Regions from separate parts of the Homo sapiens genome. Here regions 1, 2 and 4 are each linked to region 3. The links are contacts of gene promoters, found by promoter capture Hi-C in blood cells and fetal thymus (Javierre and others, 2016). All regions are on one chromosome and are shown on one strand. The core of a region is centred on a gene start or on the middle of the fragment in contact, and the rest is flanking DNA. Distances in the headings are between cores, read along the strand shown. Region 1 overlaps OCLN (occludin). Region 2 overlaps OCLN (occludin). Region 3 holds the start of CCNB1 (cyclin B1). Region 4 has its middle 22 kb from the start of OCLN.

Region 1 (2,908 bases), core at 321-2,820, 360 kb after region 3:
GTCTCTGATCAGGAGAAAGTTACTGAAATCAGTTTCTTGTCCAGTCAAAGCTGTATGGCTTGTGGAACAGGGGTCAGTCAGTATCTGTTGGTGGATGAGCTGCAGTTGTTTTCTTTTTGTATTTTTTTGTAAGTTTTTATTTTTAATTTTTGTGGGTACATAGTAGGCTTACGCAATTGCTTTAATCTTGCTTATCTTGAGGCCAGTGCTTGTTTGGCTGCTGGAGAAAAAGAGCAACCTTATGGTGGTTAGAACATAGTGTATGGTTAGGACAAATGTAGGGGTGTGGGATTTAACCCTTGTCTGGCATGGCCTTAGGTCTTATTTATAATTTGGTGTTTTATTGCCACAAAGAGTCTATTTCTATCAGTCTTGATGATCTCTATGTTAACATGAATGCTGGTCAGCTGTGTCTGAACCGCAGAAGGGAGGGAGTAAATGAGTTGTGTCTGACCTCCCATTCTGTCATGGCCAGGAACTCAGTTAAGATTTCTCTGGGGCACTCTTGGCCAAAAGGGGGTCTTCTCGGTTGGGGGCTTAGGATTTTATTTATAGTTCTCATTGGTCTATATTATTACTGTTTCTTTGGACAGCGTGCAGTTGGGTAGGGGCAATTTGTTTTCTAAATCCTAAATGCCATCTGAGCAAGGTAAAATAACCAGACATGTTCAAACCTGGTCCACGATCTCATTATTTGTGGGATTAGTAGATGTGGGACCGTCTGCCTTCAAGTGACCAAAGGTGGAGAAAAGTCTAAGAGAACTTTCCAGTCGATTTTGAAGCTTTTATTTGGGGGAGTATCTGAGGGTGTAAAATATCAAAAAACAGGAAAAACGAGTTAGACCACTTACTGTTGAGAACCTGTAGTACAAGGGCATAGGGCTGAGGAGGGTGGAATGGGCAGGTTGTAAACCTGGAGATGATCCTTAAGATTAAGATGCTCCTCCCTCTGATGCCTGAGGTATATCTCCACTTTAATCACCAAGCTGGGAAAATCCTACTCTTTCCTTTTTGAGAGAGGTGTTCCTAAACGCTGACCTAAACAAAGGCATGAAACATACTCATAATAATTTTGCATCAATAGCTGCTCTTACAAAGTTAAACTAATAGGCAAATAAAGCTTTTCAAAATGGGGAGGAGTTTAAGACAATGAGAATGGTCTCCTTTGTTACAAAGACCAGTCAAAATACCCATCCAAGATGGGTACTTCAAGCCATGTTTGAATTCTTGAGGTGGCAGTTTTTTATGCCAGAAAGAGCTGAGCTTTGGAGCTAGATGGACCAGGGTTCAAATCTCCCCTCTGCTACTTTACCTTCTCTGTGACTTTGAGCAAGTTAATTTAACTGTAGAAACTCAATTTCCTCATCTGAAAATAGAGATAATTGTATCTCCTTGGGTGGCGGTGAGAATAAACGAAGTCGGGTTTGCCTGGCACATGCTGAATACTCAACAGGTGAACTTCCCTTTCCTTCTTAGAGGTAGATGGCTTTTGCACATTGCTAGACCACATGGGTGCAGGTCTAGCCTGACTCTCTCCCATGTGTGAACTAGGGATGAAATTAGGGCGAGGAGAAAAATGAGGATTAGCTATAATTGCATATAATTTGCATATATTTTGCTTTTACTAACTCCAAATGAAATATGAAATTGATCTAAGTGGGGATAAGTGTTTTCCCCGATCTTTGTTTTGGAGGAGAGAAGATTTTCTTTCAAAGTGACCTAGAACATTCCTTCTTGACCTTTTTATTCCTTCTCTGACTTCAGGGAGTCAGGGTGGGGAAGGTGGGACCAACATGATGGTGTAGACCCATCTTACTCTCAGGTGAGGAAGAATCACGGTAGGTATTTGGAGAAGAGCACCTGAGCTGCTCTAAAGGAGAGCTGCCCTGTTTGTTTTCCTGTTGGCATCCCACAGGGGTTTAGGATGTTTTCATTAACTCTCCAAGGAGTGTTAGATGTTGTTTGTCACAAAGAATTTTTTCACAAGTGACATAATCAGAACACTTCTAATGAGTACAATTAAGCTTTGAATAAAAATTTATCCTCATAATTACCTCTTGTGAAGATCTTTTAAAATAATATTTCATTTTGCTATTTCGGAAATAAATTCTTTCTTGATTGGAATAAGAATCTTAATAAAATTTCCCTGCATATTCCCTAAATTAATAATTCATACTCCTTAAGCATGTTCAGTGTGAGTGCTTGTCCTTTTTGAATGTAATTTCAAGAGTAAGTCTGAGTTACTTTGTTGTTTTTTTCTTTTTTTTGAGATGGAATCTGTCACCCAGGCTGGAGTACAGTGGTGCAATCTCGGCACACTGCAACCTCCATCTCCCGGGTTCAAGTGATTCTTCTGCCTCAGCCACCAAGTAGCTGGGATTACGGGCGTGCGTCACCATGCCTGGCTAATTTTTGTATTTTTAGTAGAGATGGGGTTTCACCTTGTTTGCCAGGCTGGTCTCGAACTCCCGACTTCAGGTGATCCCTCCTGCCTCAGCCTCCCAAAGTGCTGGGATTACAGGCATGAGCTACCGCACCTGGCCTAGAGAAATCTTTGATTTGTGTTTTCATCCTGCTTTCTTCTGTCCTTAATTTCTTAGAGATATCCTCAAGTTACTTAAGGGAAAATTGTTACAAAGACACTTTGCTGTTTAGAATTATGCCTAGCTGGTTTTCTCAAGTACTCATTCTTTAAAAGTGAGATGTAGTGGTGTGACCCTGTAGTCCCAGCTACTCGGGAGGCTAGGGTAGGAGGATTGCATGAGTCCAGGAGTTCAAGTCCAGCTTGGGCAACATAGCAAGGCCTCATCTCTTAAGAAAAAAAAATCTTACTGTGAAAATTAAAATATTTTTCTTTTCCTTTTTAAGAGAACTTTAACTACATCATTGAGTTTTATGAGCTGACTGG
Region 2 (2,716 bases), core at 175-2,674, 340 kb after region 3:
AGCAGAATGGGTTGTGGCTAGAGGCCAATAATCTTATGTTTTAACAAGCCCTCCAGGTGATTCCTGTGCACAGATAAGCTTTAGTTTCATTTACCCAATGGTTTAAATTATTCCAAATAAGTTGTGTTCTTTCTGCTTACTACCAAAAAATGCTAACTTGAAATTATTTTCATGTTCATTTCAGCAAACCGAATCATTATGCACCAAGCAATGACATATATGGTGGAGAGATGCATGTTCGACCAATGCTCTCTCAGCCAGCCTACTCTTTTTACCCAGAAGATGAAATTCTTCACTTCTACAAATGGACCTCTCCTCCAGGAGTGATTCGGATCCTGTCTATGCTCATTATTGTGATGTGCATTGCCATCTTTGCCTGTGTGGCCTCCACGCTTGCCTGGGACAGAGGCTATGGAACTTCCCTTTTAGGAGGTAGTGTAGGCTACCCTTATGGAGGAAGTGGCTTTGGTAGCTACGGAAGTGGCTATGGCTATGGCTATGGTTATGGCTATGGCTACGGAGGCTATACAGACCCAAGAGCAGCAAAGGGCTTCATGTTGGCCATGGCTGCCTTTTGTTTCATTGCCGCGTTGGTGATCTTTGTTACCAGTGTTATAAGATCTGAAATGTCCAGAACAAGAAGATACTACTTAAGTGTGATAATAGTGAGTGCTATCCTGGGCATCATGGTGTTTATTGCCACAATTGTCTATATAATGGGAGTGAACCCAACTGCTCAGTCTTCTGGATCTCTATATGGTTCACAAATATATGCCCTCTGCAACCAATTTTATACACCTGCAGCTACTGGACTCTACGTGGATCAGTATTTGTATCACTACTGTGTTGTGGATCCCCAGGAGGTATGAGTGGTGTTTTGGGTTTTTTCTCCATCTCCTTAGCAGAGGCCTTCAACTTGAGATATGTGATAGAATCACTCTGGAAACTCTTAAAAAATATTGATGACAAGGCTCCACTTCTAATTAAATCTGGGGGAGGGGCTGAGTCTCATTAAGATATGATTAACATACCATGTAATTTGATTACTTAAATAACAGTTCAGTGGTTTTTAATATATTCACAGAATTGTGCCACCATCACCACAATCAATTTTAGAACATTTTCACTATCCTAAAAAGAAACTTGTACCCGTTAGCGGTCACTCCTCATTTCCCTAACCATTCTTAGCCCTAGGCAACCACTAATCCTACATCTATAAATTTGTCTATTCTCTAGGTATTTCATATAAATGGAATCACACAATGTGGTCTTTGTGATGGGCTTCTTTTACGTAGCATAATGTTTTTAAGGTTTACCCATGTCATAGCTTGTGCCATTCTCTCATTCCTTTTTATTGCTAATATTCCAGTGTGTGGATAAACCACATTTTATTTATCAGTTGATAGACATTTGTGTCTACATTGGCTATTAAGAATCATGCTAGACTGGGCACGGTGGCTCATGCTTGTAATCCCAGCACTTTGGGAGGCTGAGGCGGGCGGATCATGAGGTCAGGAGATTGTGACCATCCTCGCTAATAAGGTGAAACCCCGTCTCTACTAAAAATACAAAAAAAATTAGCTGGGCATGGTGGCAGGCACCTGTAGTCCCAGCTACTCGGGAGGCTCAGGCAGAAGAAATGGCGTGAACCCGGGAGGCGGAGCTTGCAGTGAGCTGAGATTGCGCCACTGCACTCCAGCCTGAGCGACAGAGCAAGACTCCATCTCAAAAAAAAAGAATCATGCTATAGACATTCTTGTATACGTTTTTGTGTGAACCTATGTTTTAATGATTTCTTGAGTTGGGTTATACCTAGGGGTGGAATTGCTGGGTCATATGGTGACTCTTTAATCTTTTGGGGAGCTACCAGAGTTTTTCCAAAGAGTTTGCATCATTTTACATTCACATCAGAAATGTATGAAAGTTCCAATTTCTCCACATCCTCACCAACACTTGTTATTGTCTGATTCTAGCCATGCTGATGGGTGAGAAGTGAAGTGGTGCTTTATTGTGATTTTGATTCGTATTTTCTTTATAGCTAATGTTATTAGCTATATAGTCATGTACTTATTGGCCATTTCTCTCTTATCTTTGGAGAAATGGCTGTTTAGACTTGTCCATTTTTTTTTTCTTTTTGAGACGGAGTCTTGCTCTATCGCCCAGGCTGGAGTGCAGTGGTGTGATCTTTGCTCACTGTGAGCTACGCCTCCTGGGTTCACACCATTCTCCTGCCTCAGCCTCCTGAATAGCTGGGACTACAGGCACCGGCCACCACGCCCAGCTAATTTTTTTTTTTTTTTGTATTTTTAGTAGAGATGGGGTTTCACCGTGTTAGCCACGATGGTCTCTATCTTCTGACCTCGTGATCCGCCCGCCTCGGCCTCCAAAGTGCTGGGATTACAGGTGTGAGCCACTGTGCCCGGCCTAGACTTGCCCATGTTTTAATTGGGCTATTTTTGTTGTTGTTTTGTTTTTGAGACAGAGTCTCACTGTCACCCAGGCTGGGGTGCAGTGGTGCAGTCACAGCTCACTGCATCCTTGACCTCCTGGGCTCAAGTGACCCTCCTACCTCAGTCTCCTGAGTAGCTAGGACCACAGGGGCATGCCACCACACCCGGATAATTTTTTAAAAAATTTTTTGTAGAGACAGGGTCTCACTTTGTTGCCCGGTCTGGGCTGGAACTCCTGGGCTCAAGTGATCCTGCCTTGGCCTTCC
Region 3 (2,956 bases), core at 324-2,823:
ACATGGTGAAACCCCGTCTCTACCAAAAATACAAAAAATTAGCCGGCCGTTGTGGCGGGCGCCTGCCGTCCCAGCTACTCGGGAGGCTGAGGCAGGAGAATGGAGTGAACCCTGGAGGTGGAGGTTGCAGTGAGTCGAGATCGCACCACTGCACTCCAGCCTGGGCGACAGATCGAGACTCCGTCTCAAAAAAAAGTAAAAAAAAAAATTTTTAAACTGGAACACAGAGGATAAGTAATCCTGCTTCGCCCCTTGCCTCTCGCCCCTGCATGGGGCGAGGAAGGATTGATCAAACCCAGAAAGACTGAGTGAGAATGGATGTTGAACACAGAACTGAAGGATGAATGGGAGTTACCTGAATAGAACCCAGGGGCTTGAATGCAAGAAGAGGCGGGCATTCCAGGCAGAGGAGAGCAAGGGTAAGGGCCCCACGGGAGGCATTCGAGTAGGAGGGTGAACTATGATGACAGAAGACTCAATAACGATCCAAAGAAACCAAATGATTGGGCGCCTTCTTTCGGATCCGTGACTTCCAGCGCCAGGAGTCTCTATTGGCTCTTATACCGTTGCTCTATGGGATAGCAATGTTTTTGTCCTTCAGCCTCCCCTCCAATTGCTGAGCTGCTGGTGTGTTTTGAGGAGTAGAAGGCAAAAAGAACCCTCTTGTTTTTCTTTGGATCTAGAGAGAATCTGAGCAAATGACAAAGCAAATGGGGTAAAATGTCTTTTTGTTTAGTTTTTCCTGATTTTCCCATGAGAGGCAAATACATGTTAAGGATAGTTGAATCTGAGTAAAGGGCATAGAAATATTCCTTACAAGATTTTTGTTGGCAACTGGTCTAAGTATGAAATTATTTCCAAATAGAAAGCTAAAACAAACAAAACAATTGGCCTTGGGAAACTGGACAATCTTGAAGTAATCAAGTAATATTGTTAAGGGACAATCAGTGTTGTGAAAACAACACGGATACACCCCCTCCCTCCCCCTCAAAAAAAAAAACCCTAAATTCAGTTCCCCCGTTGCTAATGTGTGACCCTGGCAAAGTCATCTAAGTCGCTGAGCTTCAGTTCCTCCAACCCAGAGAGTTGTTGCAACGATCAAATGAAAGAATGTCTATTAAAGCCTTTCATGAACTATATTATTGCTGCTACCGTAGAAATGGAAAGTGTGCAACACTAGATCCAAAACTACTTTTGACACTTCTGAGACTGTGGCCGCGCCTCTGTCACCTTCCAAAGGCCACTAGGCCTTTCCTGAGCTGGCATTGGCAACGCACACTCTTGCCCGGCTAACCTTTCCAGGTGGGCGGCGCACTGGCTTCACTGCTCTCCAGGTGGCCGCTGCAGCTGCCCGAGAGCGCAGGCGCAGAGGCAGACCACGTGAGAGCCTGGCCAGGCCTTCCGGCCTAGCCTCACTGTGGCCCCGCCCCTCTCGAACGCCTTCGCGCGATCGCCCTGGAAACGCATTCTCTGCGACCGGCAGCCGCCAATGGGAAGGGAGTGAGTGCCACGAACAGGCCAATAAGGAGGGAGCAGTGCGGGGTTTAAATCTGAGGCTAGGCTGGCTCTTCTCGGCGTGCTGCGGCGGAACGGCTGTTGGTTTCTGCTGGGTGTAGGTCCTTGGCTGGTCGGGCCTCCGGTGTTCTGCTTCTCCCCGCTGAGCTGCTGCCTGGTGAAGAGGAAGCCATGGCGCTCCGAGTCACCAGGGTGAGCCGCTTCGGACTGCGAACTAACGCGGCCTTCTTAGCTGCTGCCTGCTCTCCCTGCCTCGCCTGCGGGAGCCTCCCGAGCGGGAGAGGGCCGCAGGAGCGATTTGGGGAGGAAGGTGGGAGGGGACTCACCAAGAGAGCGCCGAGGTGGGCCCAGGCCTGGTGAGAGAGTGTGGGGGACGATGGATGGAGGGAGGAAGGTGAGAAAGAGAACTGGACGGATATTGGATAAATGTTTTGGGGAGGTGGAGAGTCGACTGGGAACCTTTTGAAAAAGTGATAGAGGGTCCCTGAGTGGGCCCGCCAGCAACTCTGTAACCCCCTTCCCAGAGAGAAGGTGTCTGCAATTGGAGGCTTTTTCGGTTTCCTTTCAAATGTAAATTCTCGGTATTTTAGGGCTGGCCAGGACTAATCAGGGAATCCCTCAATTGGTAAATGTAGAGGTCGGCGGAAACTGACTTGTCACGGCCGCAGAGTAGACTCTGGGACCCATGTTTTCCCTCGGAACCCATTTTTAGTCGGCTTTCTTTCTGGGAACTTCTCCTTGTGCCCCACCTTAATTAACCCTTGACTTACTCGAGCCTTCGTGGATCAGCTCTTAAAGTGGTCTTGCTTCTTTCAGAACTCGAAAATTAATGCTGAAAATAAGGCGAAGATCAACATGGCAGGCGCAAAGCGCGTTCCTACGGCCCCTGCTGCAACCTCCAAGCCCGGACTGAGGCCAAGAACAGCTCTTGGGGACATTGGTAACAAAGTCAGTGAACAACTGCAGGCCAAAATGCCTATGAAGAAGGTAACTCTCTTCCTGACCTAACTTCTGTAAGAGCCCGCCTTCCAACTGTGGCCTTTGATGCAGAAACATTTCATTCTCTCTGTTTCATCTACAGGAAGCAAAACCTTCAGCTACTGGAAAAGTCATTGATAAAAAACTACCAAAACCTCTTGAAAAGGTACCTATGCTGGTGCCAGTGCCAGTGTCTGAGCCAGTGCCAGAGCCAGAACCTGAGCCAGAACCTGAGCCTGTTAAAGAAGAAAAACTTTCGCCTGAGCCTATTTTGGTAAACTTATTCTTACCATTGTAGAGTCTGTTGATTATTTCTTGTCCCTTATTTCACTGATACATGCAAGAGCATTCAAATGAATAGTAATATTAATACCATTTATTGAGTGCTTAGCATGAGGCAAGCTCTGCCTAACATTTTACATGCATTAACTCACATAATCTTTACACGTACTCTCTGAGGTAT
Region 4 (3,015 bases), core at 495-2,994, 300 kb after region 3:
CTCACTAGAAGCCAAGCAGATGCTGGTGCCATGTTTCCTATACAGCCTGCAGAACGGTGAGCCAATTAAACCTCTTCTTTTTCCTCTCTCCTTTTTTTTTGAGACGGAGTTTCACTCTTGTCGCCCAGGCTGGAGTGCAATGGTGCAATCTCAGCTCACTGCAACCTCCGCCTCCCAGGTTCAAGCGATTCACCCGCCTCAGCCTCCCAAGTAGCTGGGATTACAGGTGCCCGCCATCACGCCCAGCTAATTTTTGTATTTGTAGTAGAAATGGGGTTTCACCATTTTGGCCAGGCTGGTCTTGAACTCCTGACCTCAGGTGATCCGCCCACCTCGGCCTCCCAAAGTGCTGGGATTACAGGCGTGAGCCACTGTGGCCGGCCACCTCTTTTCTTTGCGAATTACCCAGTCTTTTTCCAGCGGTGACGACCTACCCAGGAGAACATGCCTCTCACAAAGGATCTCCTTCATCCCTCTCCAGAATAGGGGAAGAGGAAACACAAGAAGCAGTGCCTGATGCAGAGCCCCAATTCCTACTTCATGGGTGTAAATGCCCAGGATGGTACAAAATCATCACAGTCTTTAGCCATGCACTAACAGAAATTTTGTGTGTTGGCTGCTCCACTGTCCTCTGCCAGCCTACAGAAAGAAAAGCAAGGCTTACAGAAGGATGTTCCTTCAGGAGGAAGCAGCATTAAAAAGCACTCCGAATCAAGATGAGTGGGAAATCATCTCAATAAACACTTTTTTTTTTTTGAGACTGAGTTTCACTCTTGTCGCCCAGGCTGCAGTGCAGTGGTGTGAGCTTGGCTCACTGCGACCTCCGCCTACCAGGTTCAAGCAATTCTCCTGCCTCAGCCTCCTGAGTATCTGGGATTACAGGCATGCGCCACTATGCCCGGCTTATTTTGGGGTTTCATCATGTTGGCCAGGCTGATCTTGAACTCCTGACCTCAGGTGATCTGCTCACCTCGACATTCTAAAGTGCTGAGGTTACAGGCATGAGCCACTGTGCCTGGCCTCAATAAACACATTTTGGATAAAAAATAAATAAATTACCCAGTCTCTGATATTTCTTTATAGCAATGCAAATGGACTAACACAGAGACATTATTGTGAGTGGTAAAGGCAGATTAAATGTCTTGCTTAGAATTACACAGCTGCTACTTGACTTCAAATTATACTATGAGACTACAGTAACCAAAACAGCATGGTACTGGTACCAAAACAGATACATAGACCAATGGAACAGAACAGAGGTCTCAGAAATAACACCACACATCTACAACCATCTGATCTTTGACAAACCTGACAAAAACAAGCAATGAGAAAAGGATTCCCTATTTAATAAATGGTGCTGGGAAAACTGGCTAGCCATATGGAGAAAACTGAAACTATACCCCTTCCTTATAGCTTATACAAAAACTAAGTCAAGATGGATTAAAGACTGAAACATAAGACCTAAAACCGTAAAAACCCTAGAAGAAAACCTAGGCAATACCATTCAGGACATAGGCATGGGCAAAGAGTTCATGACTAAAACACCAAAAACAATTGCAACAAAAGCCAAAATTGAGAAATGGGATCTAATCAAACTAAAGCGCTTCTGCACAGCAAAAGAAACTATCATCAGAGTGAACAGGCAATCTACAGAATGGGAGAAAATGTTTGCAATCTATCCATCTGACAAGGTCTAATATCCAGAATCTACAAGGAACTTAAACAAATTTACAAGAAAAAAACAAAGAACCCCATCAAAAAGTGGGCAAAGGATATGCACAGACACCTCTCAAAAGAAGACATTTATGCAGTCAACAAACATATGAAAAAAAGCTCATCATCACTGGTCATTAGAGAAATGCAAATCAAAACCACAATAAGATACCATCTCATGGCACATGTATACCCGTTAGAATGGTAATCATTAAAAAGTCAGGAAACAACAGATGCTGGAGAGGATGTGGAGAGAAATAGGAATGCTTTCACCCTGTTGGTATGAGTGTAAACTAGTTCAACCATTGTGGAAGATAGTGTGGCGATTCCTTAAGGATCTAGAACCAGAAATACCATTTGACCCAGCAATCCTGTTACTGGGTATACACCCAAAGGATTATAAATCATTCTATAAAGACACATGCACATGCATGTTTATTGCAGCACTATTCACTATAGCAAAGACTTAGAACCAACCCGAATTCCCATCAATGATAGACTGGATAAAGAAAATGTGGCACATATACACCATGGAATACTATGCAGCCATAAAAAAGAATGATTCACGTTGTTTGCAGGGACATGGATGAAGCTGGAAACCAACGTTCTCAGCAAACTAACACGGGAACAGAAAACCAAACACTGCATATTCTCGCTCATAAGTGGGAGTTGAACAATGAGAATACATGGACACAGGGAGGGGAACGTCACATACCAGGGCCTGTAGGGGGGTGGGGGAGAAGGGGAGGGAGAACATTAGGACAAATACCTAATGCATGCGGGTCTTAAAACCTAGATGACGGGTTGATGGGTGCAGCAAACCACCATGGCACATGTATACCTATGTAACAAACCTGCATGCTCTGCACATGTATCCCAGAACTTAAAGTATAATTTAAAAAAACTACGCAGCTGATTTCTGACAGAGCTGAGTTCATAACTGGATTTCCTTTGGATGTTTCCCTCTTTTCTTCTCTTGTGTTGCCAGAACTGATATCAAAGGGAAGGAATACAAGAGAAATATTCAATTTCACTACTTCTTTGATAGTTTGATATGTTGTCCCTAGAAGGCCATGATAATGATATGTTGTCTCTAACTTTCAGGCTAATTATAGGTACAGATAATGGGTGGTTATTTGGACTATTTTAAAAAATAGAGACAGGTTCTCACTATGTTGCCCAGGCTGGTCTCGAACTCCATGGCTCAAGTGATCCTCCCGCCTTGGCTTCCCAAAGTGCTGGGATTACAGGTGTGAGCCACCACACCCAAACTTTTTTTTTTTAATAGGTTCTCACTTTGTC

Evidence for each region. Contacts are between HindIII fragments. The CHiCAGO score rates a contact against its expected background, and 5 or more counts as called.
Region 1: a contact is called between a fragment that was not itself captured here and the fragment with the promoter of CCNB1 in region 3, in 1 of 17 cell types (M1 macrophages). The highest score is 5.2, in M1 macrophages.
Region 2: a contact is called between a fragment that was not itself captured here and the fragment with the promoter of CCNB1 in region 3, in 3 of 17 cell types (neutrophils, M2 macrophages and endothelial precursors). The highest score is 17.2, in neutrophils.
Region 4: a contact is called between a fragment that was not itself captured here and the fragment with the promoter of CCNB1 in region 3, in 1 of 17 cell types (erythroblasts). The highest score is 5.1, in erythroblasts.

The regions. Positions count from the first base shown.
Region 1 is chr5:69,527,361-69,530,268 of GRCh38, forward strand. The region is part of intron 4 of OCLN (occludin); the gene reads left to right. Among named protein-coding and RNA genes, the nearest start is that of SNORD13B-1, 10 kb to the right of the region's middle. The HindIII fragment of the contact is 904 bases long and covers 1,119-2,022 here.
Region 2 is chr5:69,508,957-69,511,672 of GRCh38, forward strand. It overlaps OCLN (occludin), which reads left to right. Exons shown (of 9, transcript NM_001205254.2): 3 at 185-863. Among named protein-coding and RNA genes, the nearest start is that of OCLN, 18 kb to the left of the region's middle. The HindIII fragment of the contact is 2,696 bases long and covers 77-2,716 here.
Region 3 is chr5:69,165,577-69,168,532 of GRCh38, forward strand. CCNB1 (cyclin B1) reads left to right here and starts at 1,574. Exons shown (of 9, transcript NM_031966.4): 1 at 1,574-1,707; 2 at 2,332-2,502; 3 at 2,597-2,767. The coding sequence starts at 1,687. RefSeq lists enhancers at 1,254-2,219, 1,600-1,829. The HindIII fragment of the contact is 10,262 bases long and covers 1-2,956 here.
Region 4 is chr5:69,469,439-69,472,453 of GRCh38, forward strand. It overlaps the pseudogene RPS27P14. Among named protein-coding and RNA genes, the nearest start is that of OCLN, 22 kb to the right of the region's middle. The HindIII fragment of the contact is 4,373 bases long and covers 1-3,015 here.